Linked DNA regions of Homo sapiens: region 1 is linked to region 2. The links are contacts of gene promoters, found by promoter capture Hi-C in human tissues and cell types (Jung and others, 2019). All regions are on one chromosome and are shown on one strand. The core of a region is centred on a gene start or on the middle of the fragment in contact, and the rest is flanking DNA. Distances in the headings are between cores, read along the strand shown.

Region 1 (2,700 bases), core at 175-2,674, 210 kb before region 2:
AAATGTAAGGCAATCATTGTATTAACTGAGTAGGTTTGCAAGCGGGTCATCTCTGGTCTTCTCTATTATGACATCTATTGGTTTGGTGCAAAGTAATGGCAAAACCTCAATTACTTTTGCACCAACCTAATATATGTTTAATGTCTATTGGTTCAATTGCCAACAATTGATTGGTGGCAATTGTTGATCAAATAAAACCAACTTGAACTTTTTTGCTTTCATCCTTCTCTCCTCCTATACTTTTATTCCCTTTTTAACATGGTGGCTCACCCTTGTAATGCCAACATTTTGGGAGGCCGAGGTGGGAGGATTGCTTGAGCCCAGGAGTTCCAGACCAGCCTGGGCAACATAGGGAGACCCTGTCTCTACAAAAATAGAAAAATTAAAGTTAAAATTTAAAAATATCAAAGAATTGCTTCTAACTCCTATTCTATCCCACCACATCATTATTACTCTATCTTAGAGATCTTCAGGTATACGGAGTTAATTCTATACTGGGAAAGGCATTTGAGGTAGATAGTATGTTATCTTATTGATGACATCTTCCTTCCTTGATCACCTGATAGTTAACAAAAACTTCCTTCCTCTCAGCACTTCCTTTCTCCTTTGCATAGCTTTTTCCCCCTGAGCACTTACAGCCTCCTGATAATACCATACTATATGTCTATATCTAGATAATTCTTCATTTGCTTATTGTCTATCTGTCTCCTTTTAGTAGAGTGAGAACTCCAAGTAAGGTTTTAAATCCCTTTTATCCTTTTAAAAACACTCATTTTATATTTGCTTTTATATTCTTCTAATATCTCAAGTTCTTGGTGGTGTCAAGATAACTTGGCACATAGTGGGCACTACAGAATTTATGTAAATGAATCAGGGAAATAAATAATCTGATTTATGAAGCTTCTATTTATACTATTATTCAAACTTTAAGCACATATGCATAAATGGTGATATACCCTTAAACTATACTGGAATAATGAACAATCTTTCACTGTATAAACCGTTGCTTAGAATCTTCCTGAGTTCTATTTCCTATTTTGTTGTAGTCAATTTGGGAGACGAGAACCTGGAATTGATAAAGAGTCAATTAGCATATGGTGGAAAATAAAAATATAGAGGTATTATTAGGAACTGGGATTATCTAACCAGGAGAGCAAGGATTCTTGGAGATAGTGTGACCTCATGATTGAGAGATTGAGCAGTGGAGCTGGACAATCTGACTTTGAGTCATGGCAACACCACCTGCTCAGTGGAAGACACTGGGATGATAATTAGCTTCTGAAAGCTTTAGTTTTTGTTATTTTTAAAATGTGAGTGTATGATTTTTTGTTTTTTGGCCTACACAGCACCCCTGTTTTGGAAAACTGTGCCTTCCCTCTTTCTATAATAATCTTACACAATTCAGGGATCAATCTCTGGATTTGTGCAGGGGCTATGGTGAAGGCGTTCTCATTCTCTGTTAATCTGACGTGTAAGGACAATATAGCTTACATAGAGAGAGGCTGTTTTACAATGACACCAGCCAGCAATGAGAGATGAAGAGAGAGAGAAAGAGAGATTGACACTGATAAACATACTGACAGTCAGCTGTGCCTGAAACCAGGTCCATCCTTTGGAGTTTGGAGTTAGGTAAATCAAAAATTTCCGTTTTTCTTTTAAGTTGGGTTTGGGAAATTTGCAACAGTGACCGAAACAAAATACATACCCAATAAATTTTAGTGTGTTGGTGATGATAAATGGAGGAGGAACAGAAGTCATCACATAGCAGAGAGGGCTTTAAAAACTTCTAAAGTTTTATTCGATTTTGTGTGTATTTCATAATGAGAGTGGCAATGTCTAAAATAGGAAGAACAGACATGAGAAAGAGCAGAATTCATTTTCTTCCACCAAACTTTCAAAGACCTAGACCCACCAATTCTTCAGGGAGAAAGGAGGCTACTATACTAATTACTACATAGCCTCTTACTATTCGGGCCTTTCCATAAACACACAACCCAAGCTCTCACCAATTTTTAAACACTTTTAACTTTGATGTAATTATAGGTTCACAGGAAATTATCAAAAAATGTACAATGAGGTCCTATGGATCCTTCGCTTAGTTTTCCCCAAGGATAACATCCTGAATAACACGATATTAAAACCAGGAAATTGACATTGGTACAACCCATAGAACTTATTTAGATGTCACCACATTTACATGTACTCATTTGTGTGAGTGTGTAGTTCTATGCAATTTTATCAAATACGCAGACTCTTGTAACCACCACCGCGGTCAAGATACAGAACAGTTCCATCCGCAAGCCTCCCTTACATTATCTTTTTTTTTTTTTTCAGATGGTATCTCGCTCTGTTGCCCAGGCTGGAGTGCAGTGGTGTGATCTTGGCTCATGGCAACCTCCGCCCCCAGCCCCCCTGCTGCCTGGGTTCAAGCGATTCTCCTGCCTCAGCCTCCGGAGTTGCTGGGATTACAGGTGTCCACCACCACACTCAGCTAGTTTTTGTTATTTTTAGTAGAGACTGGGTTTTACTATGTTGGTCAGGCTGATCTCAAACTCCTGACCTCAAGTGATCCTCCTGCCTCAGCATCCCAAAGTGCTGGGGTTACAGGCCTGAGCTTCCCACTGTGCCCAGCCACATTATCCTTTTATAACCATACCCACCCACCATGTTCTTATCCCCAGCCCCCGGCAACCACTAATC
Region 2 (2,700 bases), core at 103-2,602:
CCTAAGGGACTAAGAAAACATTCAAATATGGTGATGACCAACTCAGTAACACATTCTTATACTGCATCTCCCTTTTTGTTTTGTCTTCTTCCTCTTCCCTCATTTTGCTCCCTGGGATCAAATTTCCAAATAAACTATTGCATATAAGTGTCACTTTGCAGGGAATCCAAGAGGAGAGAGGATAATTTAATTTTTGGACACACAAGTTTGAGGTGTCTATAAGACATCCAAGTGGAAATGTCAGGCGATGGGCAGTATATACACAAATCTTGAGGTTCAAGAAAGAGATCTAGGCTTCTGAAATGCAATTCATTTCCCAACTTTGAGGAGGGCTATAAACATACAGGTAAATAAAAGAAAGATAATAGGACCAAAAAACACATGCAATTGTCATAGAGTGTCCACAGTAAGCATTCCGGTGCCAAGCAGGAAAGGGTCTTTGTAAAGATATAACCAGATCCTGCTCTTAAAAGGGAAGTCATTTGATGAAAGTGAAAAGTATTCTAACTACTGTTTGCTCATTTAAATTTCTAGCACATTTATCTGATCTGTACCTCTCTTTGGTCACTTATTTTGTGTCCTATTTTATATATATTTGTACCTACACCTTGTCTAGTCCTACCACACTGTGAACTCCTTTAGGTTAAGATTCATGCCTGAATCACCTCTGTACCTGGAATCAAAGTGCCTAGCATTAAAAAAAAAAGGTGCCAGGAATATTGAATAAATAAAACACCTACCTGCAACCAGCAACATTGGCATCATTTATGCATCCCAAACTTAAATATGCATAAGCATCATCTTGCTAAGATGCAGATTCTGATTCAGTAGATCTGAAGTGAGCCAGAGAGGCTGCATTTCCTAAAAAGCCCCCAGATGATACCCAAGCAGCTGATCCACGGACCACACTTTGAGTATCAAGGTCATGAGGACAATGGTTCTTGACCTTAGCTGCATATGAGAATCATCTGGGAAGATATTAAAAGTACTGATGTCTGGGTCCCACCCGCAGGGATTCTGATTTAACTCATTTAAGCTCTCCAAAGTTTAAGTAGCAAAGATCTAGAGTTAATAGAGCTTTACGTATGAAAAAAGAAAACATTTAATCGAATTTCTTCTTAAATGAATTGCTGCAAATATCTGAATAAATAACTCTTAATCCCCAACTCCCAAGTCAGTTTCTGTGCCACAAAGGCCCCGCCCCTGCCCTTCCCTGACACGCCCCTCCAATGAGGCCTTGTTCCGCCTGGCCACGCCCGTCGGTTGGCGCCCCGCCCCTCCGCGTCTATTGGCCGCTCCCTTTTTCTCCCATCGCTGCTTCTTCCTTCTCTACGCGGTCAACTTCCGGCGCGGAGTTTGTCACGTGCCCGGATATAGGAAGTGTTGGGGGAACGGCCGCTTCCCGTTCAACGCTTTATTGAGGGGCGTATCCTAGTGGCCCCCATCCGGTCTCCGTTTTGGAAGACCCGCCTCGGCACAGCCAGGCTCAGTCCGGCCTTGCGGTAAGCCTTCGGCCGCGGCTGCCCGGTAGTCCCGGCGGCGGCGGACAGACGAGCTGACAGGCACCAGGGTCTAAGGCGGCTCCTCAGTCCGGCTGCTGTCTCCACGCCTGGGGTCGGGCACCGCTCCTTCTGACCTTCCTTTCCCCGTTTGTCCCGGTAAGACGAAGTTTGGTCAGAGCATTCTCCAGTCCCTTGTCCTCGGGTCTAGGAGAATGCGGAGCTGGGAGGGCAGTCCTCACGGGCCCCATTACGGTTCCGCCCATCGGAACCAGATTTTGTTTGTGCAAAATGACCCTGATCGTAAGCTCTTTGGCGTGGTCCAGGAGAGGAGAGCGTGACTGTGCCTTCCTCTTTGTCCAAATTCACATCCCGGCCCCCCAACCCCAACTCCCCCCCACCCCCCGCCAAATCTCTTAAGTGTATTTCTCTATTTCCTTGCACAGTTATATCTTCTAGATGGCAATGCTTCATGCATTAATATATCTCAGCAGCATACAGGGCCCAATGCACACGGGCACTCACACTGACAGGCTATTTGTCACACAGTGTGGTGGTCCAACTGAGCTGAAGGAAACAACCAGTACAGAGTAAGCAGTGGATGGCTGCCTTTGGAACGTGGTCAGATATGGGTTCTCAGACCTGGAGAATAATTTTAGAGGACCTCTAGGGATTTATTTACTGACTTTCAGAAAAGTACCGTAAAGACTGAAGAGTTAATCACTCGACTCTTAGGATGTAAATGCCATAGAAACACCCGGCTTCAGGTCTTCATAAACATATCTGTCATGTTGACTACTGTAACCTAGAATAGTGTCTGCCACCTAATAAGCATGAGTATTTGCTGAATGAATGAAGAGTCACATACTGCTTTTCATTATGGCTAACTCCTTTATGAGGTATGCCCAATCCTGTCTTGTTTTGCCTCTTACTGTACACTCAGTTGCTTTTAGCCAGAGAAGGAGTATGTGGTAAACGTTGGTCCCTATTATTCATTTGACCAGTTTTTACTATTCAGTTCTAATTACCTTAATAGATATTTAAGTATCCACTAAACACAAAACTATGATGAACATCCCTCCCTTCTTTAAGAGAATTCTTGAGATAGAGAAGCTTATGATTTAATGAGCCCATTAGACGGCAAATGCAGTAAGTGCTGTAGAAATTTAGAGGAGAGATCACTTTGGATTAAGATCTTCAT

What was found. The method cuts DNA at HindIII sites, captures the fragments that hold promoters and counts their contacts. A contact is called where the count stands out against the background at its distance.
Region 1: a fragment that was not itself captured here is called in contact with the fragment with the promoter of EXOC1 in region 2 in 1 of the 25 tissues and cell types used here (small bowel).

Annotation. Positions count from the first base shown.
Region 1 is chr4:55,646,797-55,649,496 of GRCh38, forward strand. No RefSeq gene overlaps it. Among named protein-coding and RNA genes, the nearest start is that of NMU, 12 kb to the left of the region's middle. The HindIII fragment of the contact is 4,269 bases long and covers 1-2,700 here.
Region 2 is chr4:55,852,296-55,854,995 of GRCh38, forward strand. It overlaps EXOC1 (exocyst complex component 1), which reads left to right and starts at 1,353. Exons shown (of 19, transcript NM_001024924.2): 1 at 1,353-1,658. RefSeq lists a silencer at 1,145-1,244. The HindIII fragment of the contact is 5,967 bases long and covers 1-2,700 here.